5 separate regions of the Homo sapiens genome follow, and regions 1, 3, 4 and 5 are each linked to region 2. Evidence: promoter capture Hi-C in 16 types of primary human blood cells and fetal thymus (Javierre and others, 2016). All regions are on one chromosome and are shown on one strand. Each heading gives the region's core, a stretch centred on a gene start or on the middle of the fragment in contact. The rest is flanking DNA. Distances are from core to core; before and after follow the strand shown. Region 1 overlaps LINC03033 (long intergenic non-protein coding RNA 3033). Region 2 holds the start of PRKCH-AS2 (PRKCH antisense RNA 2). Region 3 overlaps PRKCH (protein kinase C eta). Region 4 overlaps PRKCH (protein kinase C eta). Region 5 overlaps PRKCH (protein kinase C eta).

What was found. Contacts are between HindIII fragments. The CHiCAGO score rates a contact against its expected background, and 5 or more counts as called.
Region 1: a contact is called between a fragment that was not itself captured here and the fragment with the promoter of PRKCH-AS2 in region 2, in 10 of 17 cell types (neutrophils, activated CD4 T cells, non-activated CD4 T cells and 7 more). The highest score is 24.1, in neutrophils.
Region 3: a contact is called between a fragment that was not itself captured here and the fragment with the promoter of PRKCH-AS2 in region 2, in 7 of 17 cell types (neutrophils, activated CD4 T cells, total CD4 T cells and 4 more). The highest score is 19.7, in neutrophils.
Region 4: a fragment that was not itself captured here is called in contact with the fragment with the promoter of PRKCH-AS2 in region 2 in 2 of 17 cell types (neutrophils and activated CD4 T cells); the score reaches 7.8 in neutrophils.
Region 5: a fragment that was not itself captured here is called in contact with the fragment with the promoter of PRKCH-AS2 in region 2 in 13 of 17 cell types (activated CD4 T cells, neutrophils, M1 macrophages and 10 more); the score reaches 20.1 in activated CD4 T cells.

What each region holds. Positions count from the first base shown.
Region 1 is chr14:61,628,450-61,631,149 of GRCh38, reverse strand. All of the region lies in intron 1 of LINC03033 (long intergenic non-protein coding RNA 3033), which reads right to left. Among named protein-coding and RNA genes, the nearest start is that of LINC01303, 59 kb to the right of the region's middle. The HindIII fragment of the contact is 1,090 bases long and covers 844-1,933 here.
Region 2 is chr14:61,543,788-61,546,748 of GRCh38, reverse strand. PRKCH-AS2 (PRKCH antisense RNA 2) reads left to right here and starts at 1,265. Exons shown (of 3, transcript NR_188139.1): 1 at 1,265-1,655. The region is part of intron 12 of PRKCH (protein kinase C eta); the gene reads right to left. The HindIII fragment of the contact is 1,799 bases long and covers 938-2,736 here.
Region 3 is chr14:61,453,713-61,456,469 of GRCh38, reverse strand. The region is part of intron 7 of PRKCH (protein kinase C eta); the gene reads right to left. Among named protein-coding and RNA genes, the nearest start is that of PRKCH-AS2, 90 kb to the left of the region's middle. RefSeq lists an enhancer at 1,537-1,706. The HindIII fragment of the contact is 5,606 bases long and covers 1-2,757 here.
Region 4 is chr14:61,437,390-61,440,301 of GRCh38, reverse strand. All of the region lies in intron 2 of PRKCH (protein kinase C eta), which reads right to left. Among named protein-coding and RNA genes, the nearest start is that of PRKCH-AS2, 110 kb to the left of the region's middle. RefSeq lists an enhancer at 660-1,029. The HindIII fragment of the contact is 9,604 bases long and covers 1-2,912 here.
Region 5 is chr14:61,473,391-61,476,090 of GRCh38, reverse strand. The region is part of intron 9 of PRKCH (protein kinase C eta); the gene reads right to left. Among named protein-coding and RNA genes, the nearest start is that of PRKCH-AS2, 71 kb to the left of the region's middle. The HindIII fragment of the contact is 947 bases long and covers 866-1,812 here.

The sequences.
Region 1 (2,700 bases), core at 139-2,638, 84 kb before region 2:
ACCATGTAGCTGGAGTTGCCAGATGAAACAGTGAGCACTCAGTTAAATTTGAACCTCAGAAAAACAATGTATAAGTAAGTCTCAAATATTTCATGGGCATCATGTTAAGTTTGACTTTGAGGTAAACCACCGATAATTCTTTTAGTACAAATATGTCCCAAATATTGCATAGGACACATTTATATTTAAAAAGATGTTCATTATTTATCTGAAATTCAAATTAAACTGGATGTCCTTTATTTTTTTCCCTCAATCTGGCAACCCTAATGTTAGCTCATGTGGTCATTTAGTATTCTGGCTAAGCACCCAGAATTGGCTCTACACGAAAGTAAGCAGACACACACTAAATGTGATTGAAGTGAGTAACAGACATTTTCTACTTAAAAAATATTCCCCAGTGGGTTTGCAGTTATAGGAGCTGACATTTAATCACTTGAATCATTTATTTGTATTATGACATTTTATCTTCAGAGGTTTTAATTGAAATGCAAATAAAGTAACTCAGAAGGGCTCCTCACATCTTACCTACTACCAAGTTAGAATGGCTTGGTTACTAACCTGTAGCTGTGCTGTCTGGAGCACGTCGACTTAGGTGCTGTGCTAGGGGATGGGGGGCTGGAGAATCATGCCTAGGTTTTGCACTGCTTTACATTTCATTAGCTACAAGTCAGGTGGCCCCACAGAGGGAGGCAAAGCAGTACAGTCTTCCTGTGTCCAGGAGAGGAGAATTGGATACTTGTGAACACAATATAATGTGTTTTCATAGAGCCCTAAAGGATTAGGGAAAACCTTGAATTGTTAGATTTTGATTAGAGAAAATACTAGTGGCAATAATAATAAGCTTTTATATCATATGGCTCCATATTTTGTAATATTTTATTTGAGCACTGAAAAATCCTAGAAGTTACGCAAATATAAGTAGCCTCATTTTACAGATTAAAAATTTGAGATTAAAAATTAGGGGACTTGCTTGAGGTCATAAAGCTGCCAAGAAACAGAATAGAGACTGAACATATATTTAGTGACTTGAGATTTTCTGCATGTTTTACATCAATGGGGCTCAAATTTATTCAAATGACAGAGCCTCTAAGTGTTATGGTGTCCCTTGTGAAACACCTAATTAATTCATTAGGCTATAATATATGTATACAATATCAGAATCATGAGCACATATGTCCATGTCAAAAACTCTCTGCTAAAATAAATATGAGCCATTTGTAAGTTTTTCCATGAATATAAATATAGGAACAACCTCATGAGACAGACACTAGTATTACCTTCATTTTGCAGATAAGAAAATGGCATAAAGAAGTTAAGTCACTGGCCCAGTGTCACAGCAAGAAGTAAAGATTAGCCTCCAACCCAGACTGTCTGACTCCAGAACTCATGTTCTTTAAGCATTATGCCAACATTTTGCCAATGCTGAGGAACAAAACTATAAGAGGGATTCAAGATGAAAAGATTTTAAATGGAGCAAAGATTACACATTAATTCATGTGTGTGTTTGTGTGTGGCAAGAGGTCTTGTAGGACTCCGGTTTATTTGTGCTCATGGAGCTTCGGCAGGTTTTAGAGTTCAGACCGTCCTAGAACCTCACCCATTCATTTTTTCATTCATTCAATAAGCATCTCCTATCAGTAGGCATATTTTTGTGAAATCCTTAGGGATAGAGAGAAGACTAAGATCCAGTTCTTGCCTTGAGAAGAGAGACGGGCAGATAAATAATCACAGTACAGTGTGATCAGAGCTACCCCAGGAAAATGCAACAGTGCCACTGCCACTAGCACACAGAGGGGTGGCAGGCACCTCACCCAACTTGGGGCCAGTGAAGAATAACTGAGGGAAGGTGACACCTGGCCAGGAGTTTGAGAGATGAACAGAAATTAGTTCTGTGAGGCAGGGGTCACTGGTGGAGAAAAAGGGCATTCAAGCTTGCAGGATGGCATCTATAAGAACAAAGCATGACAATGCAAAATGGCCCATCAGAGAGTGCCATTTCACTCAGTCATGTTTAAACAATTGTATTAACCTGTAAAACCACTGTTTGCTACCAAACATCCCTGATTCTTACATCCATCCCCAGACCCCTCCCCTCCCCTGCCACCTGCTATCTAATCCCATAACCAAACATCTCCCATCACTGACCCCAACCCCTGGAGTCTGTATCAGACATGGGGTAAGTTTATGTGTGTGTGAATTAGGTAAGGTTAACATTATTCAATTTTAGTGGTAAAACATCTTAATCCCCCAGTGGTACCCAATGTTTAGAGGAAGACTATTTTGGTCATTTTTGCATTAGAATGCGGGAGAAAGGCATCTGATGCGGTCTGAGTGTAGGGAGTGCACTGGGATCTGCAGCAACTGGCTTTTATTGTCAAATATACCCCACAATGTTGTCTAAGGCTCTTCCCAAGCCTTCACAAAGAAGCAGAGCCCTATTGCCCTGATGTGGGATACATATACCAAAAGCCCAGAAGCCAAGTGACACAGACATCATTTTGTTTAGCAAATGATGGGCAGAAATTCAGGGGTTAGGCAAGCTGCATGGGGAAATGATTACAAAAGAGAGTCAATGAGGCCATTTCAAACTTTCTACCTTTTCCTTCAAGAAAAATTTCACTCCAGCTCTGACCCAAGAAAACACATTTAGCCCAAGCATAATCTTCCAAGTTAAGGCAACCCGTTCTCCTTAGAAACCAG
Region 2 (2,961 bases), core at 16-2,515:
TTTAAATAGACTCATGACAGTCCCCAAGCACCTCTTTCCAAATCTGATTTGTGAACAACACAAAAGTAATGCTGTGTTTATAAAAATTGTTTTGGAGCTGAATTTACAGAGAAAATCTTGTTGAAGGTGCAGACACGGAAAGACAGTGTTTGGAGGTACCTCCCACTGCCATGCCAGGTGTCCAGAGGTGTCAAGCTGCCAGTGTTGATTCAAATGAAAATGATAATGTTGAAGAAGGAGGCTGCAAAAGTTCCTAAGCAACCTGACGGGATATACCTTGTAAAATGCTTTCAAAAAAGCTTCAAAGGGCAGCTAATAAATGAATATACTGACAGGGTTTAATCGCTTCTCCTCTCTCCTAGTAACAGGAATTAAAGGCCACAGGTGGTTCTGGGTTGGAGGCAGGACCCAAAAGTAAATGCAGCATTCAGAGCTGCACAGGCCCAGTCAGAGCAGCTGCCACTTCAGGCACTTACAGTGGTCACCCAGGATTCAGGAGATGCATATTATAAGTAACTCAGTTCTGTAAGAGCTAGGAGTTAGTTCACACTGCTTGGGCTCTCACTAAGTAAGCCTGTGCAATGCAGGCAGGAAGGGAGAAAATGCTTACAAAAAAGAAATGAGTAGATTCTTGCCTTAGGAAAGTCAACGGGATACAATTCCTGATGGAAGAGCAGTTGCTATTCTAAGAGCTAATTAACAAGAAACAATGCTGCAAAAAACTTGGGAGACAGGACGGCAGAACACACCCAGATGGCCTGTGGGAAATTCCCAGGCCTGCCAATGATGTGAGAGAGGACATCTTGTGAATGGGTGGGTACAGCCTGTTCTTCTGGGCAAGACAAACAGTGCAGGACTCTATATGCCAGGGTGGCTGAAGCCCCAGTGTCCAAGAGGCTTGCCCATTCCTCCCTGCCCCTGGCACTGAACCCAAGCTTCCATGGGGCACTGTGGAAGAGGCCTTGCCTGACGACAAGTAGACCAAACACGACCGTCCGTCCTCTAAAAACTGCACCCTTGGAATTGGGGACAGGCAGAATAACCCTTTCACTAGCTTGATACTTAGCCTCTTGGGGTTCTGATAAATCCTTTTGAATAACCAAGCAGTTTTGTTTTTAATACCTTGGCCTGAGCCCTTTAGATGCAGCCATCCTCAACTTACAAAAAAAACAAACCAAAAGAAAAAACAAAACACACACACACACAAACAAACTTTGATTCAATTGACAAAGGTTTTCAAGGTGTCTACTACATGTAAGGCAGCACACTAGGGGTTTCTTGGGGATACGCAGATGACAAAGACAGTGTCTCTTCATCCAGGAGCTAATCAAGAGAAGGGGGAAGAATCAAGCAAACTTCATAATACACAGCCGGATGAAATGAAAAGAGACTTAGATCAAGTGCTGTGAGAGCTTGGAAGAGGCACGGGGCAAATAACACTGGGGCTGGTGGTGGGAAGGCAAGTGACAGCCTCGTGGAAGAGGTGGCATTTGACCAGAGATGAGGACGAACAGAATTAACATAGTAGGCATGAAGGAAGAAAATGCGCCTGAGGACACAGCCAGCACAAATGCAGAGGCATACAAGTGCCTGGTACAGCTGGCATGCAGGGATGGCTGAGGAACTGCGGGGGCAGCCGGTGGGATCCATCCGAGGTGAGTGATGAGAGCTGCACGGCAATTTAGGGGATGACACTAGCCACAGCGTGATGAATAAATCTTAAATGCAGAGGTAGCGCCTGGTGGTGAGCAGTTAGAGGCTGAGACAATAGCTGAGAACACATGACAAGTTCAGCAACTAGGAGAGTTTCTAGTTAATTGGAAGGAAGAGTTGGAAGCACATTCTAGAGGGCCGTGGAAGAATAAACACAATCCACTAACTGCCGGGAATGGGAGTGAAGAGTCCAAGATCACAGGGTCCTCCCTGGCTGCCTGATGGGGCAGTGGTGTTGAGTAACAGAAATGGAACAAAAGAGGGGCAAGAGATTATTCTTTGTAGCATGAGTATTAGTAGCAGTGTTAGTAGTAGTAGTATTTTTGTTAGTGGAACAAAGACAAAAATAGCTCACACTTACTGAGATCCTACAGTCTGCCAAATCTGGGAGGCTGATGGGCTCCGCTTTGCATTGGAGGTGTGTGGGCACCCACATGCAGATGAATTCTAGGGTAAATCTGGGGTGCAGGCCAGGGCTGGCCATCTAACGCTCAGAGACATTGAAATTTGAGTAACCACTGAAGCTGGGAGGGCAGGTTAGATTGTGGAAAGTGACAGAGACAGACTAGAACTGATACCAGCCCTAGGTCTCAGACACATTTTATTTGGCCTACCTAGTGTGTTTTGAAATAATTTTAATTACTTCTCAAATATTTAAACGCTAGGAAATGTCACATCACATGAAAAGTCAGGTTTTCCAACTTCTCGTGGAAAATGAGATACTCGGGAACACTGGGCCTGCACTCCTCTCATAGAAACGGCCTGGAGTTGAGCAGGGGCTTCTGCTTTTCATGGGGCACCAGATGCCCAGTCAGTCACATGCCCCACCACTCCCTATCACCTCCCACCTGGCTGGTATCACTCACGGACTTTCATGGCTCCTGACCCCTGGTGTAGGGTGAGAAGCAGCCAGAGTGGCAGCTGGAGGATGCCATGAAGAGGCCAGAGGAGGATGAATACCATGAAACAGAAACCAGGACCGGGAGAAGGAGGGTCCGGGGTGATACTAAGGGGGTAGAAGCTTTGTGTGTTGTGGTGGTGGTGGGGTGGCCCTTCTACCACTACCCCCGTCCAGTGATGTGGAGATGAGGAGTTAAGGGAACATTTAACATTAGTCCCAGGCCTGAAATCTTTCACAGTTCACGTTGGTGCAGATGGTGTGGAGTTGGAGGTGGATAGCTTGCCATCCTAGGCTGGGCACAGGCCTTTCCCTAAACTCTCTGTTCCTACTGCTGTGAATGGTGACAG
Region 3 (2,757 bases), core at 171-2,670, 90 kb after region 2:
CAAGAATATGAGTTCTAACGGCTATTCAATATCCATTTCATGGATATCTCACAAGGTATTAATTCCCCTGCCATTAGAAGGATGAGGCATCTCCCCTTTTTCACCACAGTGAATAACACTGGAGTGAATACACTTCATGCAAATCTTCAAAACAGAGTAATTAAGGGTCTAGCTCTCAAGCAAGCTGCCTGGATTCAATAACAGCTCTGCAAGCTAACCTAAGACCCTGAGCAAGTTACCTACCCAGCCTCTCCCTACCTCAGTTTCCTCTTCTGACAAAGAGAAGGTTAAAGCATCTGCCACATGAGTCATTAGGAGGCCTAAATGAACAAATGCATGTAAAGCACTTAGATTGGTGCCTGGCACATTCAATAAACTTAAGCTGTATTGTCATTATCATTATTCAGTTTCTTAAGATAACTTCCTGCAAATGGAATTCCTTGGGCCAAAGTGCTAATTTTGAAGACTTCTGATACACAGCCAACTTACCGTCTACAATAAGACTGACCAATCTACACTCTCACCAGCATGATGAGAGTTCTAGTTTCAACACAATGAATGGAAGGTAAGTGTGCCTGCCTCAGTTGGCTTTCCAGTTCCATCCTACTGAGTACCTGAGGATGTTGCTACCTAAAGGCAAGGTGACTTTTGCAGCTGGCCCACCTTGAGACATTTATAAGATAAGCTACCACTAGACAACAGATCAAAAGTCTAACATCCAGCCAGGCACCGGATGTCATGGATTAAGGATACTTGATTCAAATGACAAGTGCACTGTCCATTCCTAAAGATCGTGCTGCATGATCTTTATTCCTATTCTTATCTTATTCCCATTGTATCTCAGAAGCCCTAGTTCAGGCTGATATCTTTAATCTCTGCTCTTCAGGGATAACTGTCCCATGCATTAGCAATCCCCGCACAATATTGGCATCCTGCCCGCCTACCCACAAGACAGACAGACCGGATTTCAAATACATTTTTTTACATAATAGGTTTCAAATACATTTTTTCACCATGATTTGATGAAACCCATTCATCTAAATCACATGTAACAGTCATTGCTGATTTAGTATGATCTAATATAAGGATTAAAACATTTATCGTAGTGGCAATTCAATAAATTGTCAATAGGCCAGGCGCGGTGGCTCAAGCCTGTAATCCCAGCACGTTGGGAGGCCGAGACGGGAGGATGACAAGGTCAGGAGATCGAGACCATCCTGGGTAACACGTTGAAACCCCCCATCTCTACTAAAAAAAAAAAAAATACAAAAAATTAGCTGGGCGTGGTGGCGGGTGCCTATAGTCCCAGCTACTCGGAAGGCTGAGGCAGGAGAATGGCGTGAACCAGGGAGGCGGAGCTTGCAGTGAGCTGAGATTGTGCCACTGCACTCCAGCCTGGGCGACAGAGCCAGACTCCGTCTCAAAAAAAAAAAAAAATTGTCAATGAAAGTCCCTGATCTACTAGGCAGGAGTCCTTCAGTAAAAAGGAAATGAGGTGGTTGGTGCTGACATTTTCAGGATTATCAAGAATCTCACAGTAATTGCACTTCCCTTCCTCAGCACCCAGAGATTAATTAGTTGAGTCGATAATTTTCCTGAACTGGACACCAAGCTACACCGTTCAGATCTTACATGGCTATTTCCCATCTCTAGACGCTGACCAGGAAGGCAACAGTAAGACATGGGCTTGGGAAGCAGCCAAGGCTCAACTGGATGACAGCAGGTGGAGGTCATTCAGGGAGAGTGCTGACAAAAACATGTGCACTGCAACTGACACAACTCCACTCACTCCTGAGAGTCCAGAGGGAGAGACTCCTGTCTCCTGCTGAATGTGAATGATAAATTCACAATCCATAAACCAAAACTTCAGAACTGCTGGACTCCAGGGCTGTGCAGAGCCTCTGAGATCTTCAAGTTGAACCGCTTTAGAGGTGAGGACGCTGACGCCCATAGTTACTGGTCACCTGTCCTGCCTGGTCCCCAGACAAAAGCATAACCCAGGATCCTGGGTTTTAGGCTTTCACCAGACCACAGTGACAGGAAGCTGATTTTAAAACAGAAAAGAAAGGCTGGGCGTGGCAGCTCATGCCTGTAATTCCAGCACTTTGGGAAGCCAAGGTGGGCAGATCACTTGAGATCAGAAGTTTGAGACCAGCCTGGCCAACATGGAGAAACTCCGTCTTACTAAAAATACAAAAATCAGCCAGGCGCGGTAGTGGGCACCTGTAATTCCAGCTGCTCGGGAGGCTGAGGCAGGAGAATTGCTTGAACCTGGGAGGTGGAGGTTGCAGTGAGCGAATATCACTGCACTCCAGGCTGGGTGACAAAGCGAGACTCTGTCTCAAAAAACAAATAGAAAAAAGAAAAAAGAAAAAAAAAAGGAAAGAAAGGAAAAAAGTCCTTCTTTTGCTTTCTGTTTATTACTTGTTGCTCATGCTCATTATTTCTTGTCATATAACTGTATATACAATCTTATCCGTGAAACAAATTGCTATTAAAAATGCTATTTCAGCCAGACACAGTGGCTCACACCTGTGCAATCCCAACACTTTGGGAGGCCAAAGCGAGAGGATCGCTTGAGCCCAGGAGTTTGAGACCAGCCTGCGCAACAAAGTGAGACTCCATCTCTACAAAAAAAAAAATAAAAAATTACCCTGACATAGTGGTGCACACCTGCAGTCCCACCTACTTGGGAGACTGAGGTAGGAGGATCACTTGAGCCTAGGCAGTCGAGTCTGCAGAGAACCATAATTGTGC
Region 4 (2,912 bases), core at 18-2,517, 110 kb after region 2:
AATAATCCTGACAGGTTCTAAGGACTGCGGAAGAACAAAAGTTACTACACTACACTGCCCTCTTCCACTCATGATACTTCTAGAAGTCATTTAGAAACCACGAAGTGAACAGATTTTAACATTCCTTTGCTTGCAGATGACAAAATTAGGCTAATGGTATCACTCTCTATCCAGCCTCTGTTATCACCAGCCTGAGACCCAGCTCAATACCGGCCAAAGCAAAACTTGTCTTGAATTATTAATAGTAAACACTTATCATGTATAGATGCAAATTAAGTTCTCCCTGGGGATCTAATTACCAAGAATTAACTTTTTAATCCCTTAATACTACAAAGATTGGTTAAAAGACCAGCCCACTTGCATGTTTAATATTTCATCAACTGAATCCTATTTTTTTTCTTAACAGCTATTGCCACTGCAATTTTCCAGTTGATTCCTTATAACCAGAGGAGGATTTAGGAAAAAACTGCATGCCAATCATTTCTTGCCACCTTCACTCCTGCCTTTTCACCTTCCTAAACGGCCCTTCCCTCTTTCCTTCCAACCATTAAGAGTTAAATTAGCCTTAACCTACCTGCCTCAGAGCCTGAGCAAACTCCCCCAAATCCTAAAGCCGGGTGACATGCTAACCCACTGTTGCCACAGCAGCCTGGGAGTGCACCGGTGACATGCTAACCCACTGTTCCCACAGCAGGCCGGGAGTGCACCTCAATGTCTTCTCTCACGACCTGGGGCCGTGTCTCTTTCACTTCTGCCCCAGGCACTTCCCATGCACTTTCATACAGGGACATGGACAAACTTCACTCTGCCCTTTTACATTATTTTGCACGTGTGCTTCGTTTAGAAAACAAACATACACACTCATGCACCTACACACACACCTGGGACTTTGCAAGACATTTGGTCACATAAAGAAAATGGGCCCCCATGGCTTCCAATGACTTTCACTGTCACCATGTTCTAGACTGCTGCCATGAGCAAAAGGAAACAGCTCTCCCACACGCTCTTCACTTGCCTACAGACTCCAACCCCACTTCACCATCGGAATGCAGAGGGAACTTCCTCATTGTTTGCACCGCCTCCTGTTTACTTAGGACTGAGTTAAAAGGACTAAAAAAAAACCCTATTGAATACTATGGTGCTTAAATCAACCAGGGCTTTGAGAAATCTCTCAGATCATGTTTTAGTTAGACACGTCAGGCAACCCTAACATGCTCTGCAGCCAAAACTTGCATCACAACTTCTGTTTGGCTCCTTAGGTGCCCAATGGCTCTAAATAAATAGGAAGCTGGCTCTGTGTCCCAGCACGGAAATTCACATTCCAATCTCCAGAGGGGTGCTGGCCTGGAGCCCTGGTCTGCCTCACCAGAAGTGGGTTTTGAAAAGCCACCCCATCCACAGGGTGCAGAGTAATTATGTCAAATATAATGAAGATTAACTATTCTAAAATCCCATCTCTTCTGAACTAAAATTATATTTCATAAAACTGGACTGTCACCCCATGCTTGTTTTGAGAACTTTAGAAAGCACATGTGACTAGGAGTCACCAAACAACCCCAGGGTAAGTTTTCATTTGCAAAAAGTTGCACTGGACTGAAACTTGTGTTGGTCATGTGAGGCTTCTGTGGATGAGGAGTATGTCTCTGAGAACTCCTATTCTCGGTTGCTGTGATTCTGTAAACTGTTGTAACTTTAACTCAAAAACAGTAAATACATCATCCTCTTTGGTCTTTTGTTCTATCTGCTCGAATTTATGGTTTTATATCCCAGCAGCAGAAATATATATTTGAAAGTACTTCTAAAATATTCCAACCTGGGGCAAAAGCGTGGATCACAGCTCCTCATTTTTAAAATGATTGTAAGCAAATTAAATCAGAGAAAATTTCTGGCATGGCACTTTTTAGTTTCCAGAATTACTGGCGTAAAATGCACAGCGAATATAACTTTGATTCAGTGTAACATACGATTGAACTCAAGTTTAATTTGCCTAATATCAAAAGCACTGTGGTTTACTGTGGCTTATCTTTAAGGGGGCTACACTGAGAAAACAGAACAGCCTTCTATATGACGACAGACAAGAGAGTTTGGTGGTTGAGGCTGTGGAATCTGGAGCCTGGGGTGTGCAGACGGCTTCTTCCCTTATAAGCTCGGTGGCCCTGGGCAAGTTGTTTAACATCCAATGCTTCAGTTTCCTCATCTATAGAACATAAAGGATATGTTCCTCATAGGGCCATTTGAGGACTTGATAAGTTAATAAGCACAGCATAATTAGAGAAGTACCCGACAGGTAGTAACTTACCTAGTGTAACTGTGAAAACCCTTACTTCACACTACCCTAGAGTTCTAGGAATAGAAAGGATTTTTTTTTTTAAGAGACAGGGTCTTGCTGTGTTGCTAGGCTGGTCTCAAACTCACGGGCTCAAGTGATCCTCCTGCCTCGGCCTCCCAAACTGCTGGGATTACAGGTGTGAGCCATTGCACCTGGTCGATAGAAAGGATTTTTTAATTCAACTGTCTATTGTCTAGAAGAAGAATGAATACCTAGGAAATTGGGGCCTAGAGAAGTTAATGTACCCCGAGACACATTTAGCTAGCTTGTGCTAGAACTGACACTAAAATCTTCCACACACCCTGCACTGTGCCCTTTATTAACACCAGGTCTCCTGGTATCCCTAGAAAGTAATAAATTTTCTAGTGAGGAAACAGAAACTAACAGGAAGGTTAAGTGAGGTCAAGCAGCCAATGACAGAAGTGAGGACACCAGACTCCGTTGACTATTGTTGAACTACTGGATATACTATCAAATGTCTTTTTTCTTCTTCCTGAGATAATTTGTTTTATCATTTGTACACGTGGGAGAAAACAACTGTGAGAAAAACAAACAGAAAAACCTTAGAGTTAACCAAAAGCTA
Region 5 (2,700 bases), core at 90-2,589, 71 kb after region 2:
AACAGTTTGTGGAAGAGTTAAGTAGGACAATCAGGTCTGCTGATGCTATATTTTCCTTTATAAAGCTTTGATTTTTCTATTTATAAAACTAATTACATATCCATAGTTCAAATGTAATTACAAAGTAAATAGATAGAAAATTGAGAAGAAAATAAAGAAAATTCAAATAAAATCACCCTAATCCTGACAACCAGATATAGAAGTCTCAAGCTTTTAGCTTCCAAAGAACTGGAGATTTCAGGGCAAATAAGAAGTTTTCAAGGTAATGTTAACTAGATTTAATTTTTCCTTTGTGTCCTAATTATACTTAACATTTTATAGCATGTTTTAAAAACAGAAAGGAAAAAGTAAAAAACATACACTTCTCTTTTCATTTATATTGCATATTATTTCCTGATATAATTAGTCATCAAGACCATGATTTTTTTAACAGTTGCATGCTATTCCCGATGCCAGTTCTATGAAGTCCTACAATTAGCTTGACTTCTAATTAGGTTAATGAAAATAAAAGGACACAGCTTTTATAGTCTCTATGCCATGATAAAGATCATTTTTTTAGCCTGGTAAAGCAGGCATCTCTCAGTGGAGATGATTGCTAACTGGGCACGGTGTTTTAATTGATTGGTCAATCATTTAGACATCACTAACCTTTAGAGCACCCCCTAGTGGTCGAGAAGAACGTTTGAACAAACCTCCTAGTCAAAAACTATCCACATTTGAAATACACTAAAACTTAAGAGTCACAAAGAAGATATCTTGGATGATTATCTACTTTTTAAAAAAGGTTTAGCAACTTAACAAAAGCATCCACAATAGGATTTCTTCAAGTCATTATTTCACATAGTGAAATTCTCTTTATAAAGCTTTTGGTTTAAGCATCAAATAGGATATTTATGGACTTAGTTTGTATAGGGCTTGTAGGATAAAGAGTAAAAATACCATTTCATTTATTTAGATCATTTTTCATGATGGAGATCCCTAAACTGTGTAAACTTTTAAGACAACCACAATTTCATTTCTCCCTCTGATCTATGTATGAATTCGACACTTATGCCATGTGGGAAGATATTTTGGGTTATAGTTGATTAGACACTTTGCCCAGTTAGAGAAGTAGAGACTATGGCCAAGAATATGCCATATCTGCCTCAAGGTGATGCCTGGGAATCTACTGGCTGAGAATTCATTTCCTCTCCCCCTGTCTGCAGTGCTGATGCACGGGCCGAAGTTTCTGTGTGGAATGTGCCTTTCACATGCTATTCTGAGTTTGATTCCTCCACTGTAGCCATGACAAACTCTTCTCTGGTCCTCTGGCTGGGGAACAAAATCTGTTCAAGCAAATGACATGCCCACAATTTCTTCCCAAACTATTAAAAAATTTTTTTAAAATTATACTTTAAGTTCTAGGGTACATGTGCACAACGTGCAGGTTTGTTACATAGGTATATATGTGCCATGTTGGTTTGCTGTACCCATCAACTCGTCATTTACATTAGGTATTTCTCCTAATGCTATCCCTCCCCCAGCCCCCCATCCCCTGCCAGGCCCCAGTGTGTGATGTTTCCCACCCTGTGTCCATGTGTTCAACTCCCACCTATGAGTGAGAACATGCAGTGTTCCCAAACCATTTTTGCAATCTGGGTTACATATTGATCTCCACTGTCAATTAAGGAAGAAAGTTGCAGACCTTACTCTAAAGGTATGGAGGCTAAATTAAAAGAGGTGGAGCTCTAACAGGAAGGGGAACAGTCATCAGAAACAGCTTAAAAGGTTTATATGGGAGAAAGCACATTGTGTTAACTTTGAAGGCAAGCTTCAGTTGGCTAAGTGGAGTTCAGACAGGTTCTTAAAACCCCAAAAATGAGCAGATCCTAAGATGGTGACACCAAGAACCTCATGCCGTATCCAATAGAACTCTGAGTCTGTTAGTGAACTGACTTCATCTCAGCACTTGATTTATCCTACTATGAAACCACTTCCTTCTGATTCTTCTTCTTTTTTCCACTCAACCTTAACCCTTACTTAGAATTCCTTCTTCAAGTCTCCTCTCTTCTCTCTCTATAAACATCTACTAAAAGATTTTTGATTTTTTTTTTTTTTAAGACAGAGTCTCGCTCTGTTGCCCAGGCTGGAGTGCAATGGCGTGATCTTGGTTCACTGCAACCTTTGCCTCCCGGGTGCAAGCGATTCTCCCTGCCTCAACCTCCTGAGTAGCTGGGATTACAGGTGCGTGCCACCATGCCCGGCTAATTTTTGTATTTTTAGTAGAGACAGGGTTTTGCCATGTTGGCCAGGCTGGTCTCGAACTCCTGACCTCAGGTGATCCACTCACCTTGGCCTCCCAAAGTGCTGGGATTACAGGTGTGAGCCACTGCACCTGGCCTGAAAGATTTTATATTATAGTTTCCACTTACCAAGAGGACATGGATGACACCAAACTGATCTCCCATCTCAAGTGTGTTTCTGACAAACAAGCATCTTACCACTGAATTTCCCCCAAACCGAACTCATGCTATTCCATTCTCTTTAGGCTTCCAAATGGCCAGAGCCCTGGCCATTCCCACTTAAAAAGTCCTATCATGTCTACTTCTTTAGTGTTTCCTTGACTCCACTCCCATGATTGCTGCCTTGGGGCAGGCAAGTTCCCAGATCACGGGCCCAGCATCCTCACCAGATCTGCTGCCATTAGCCTCCCTCTGTACA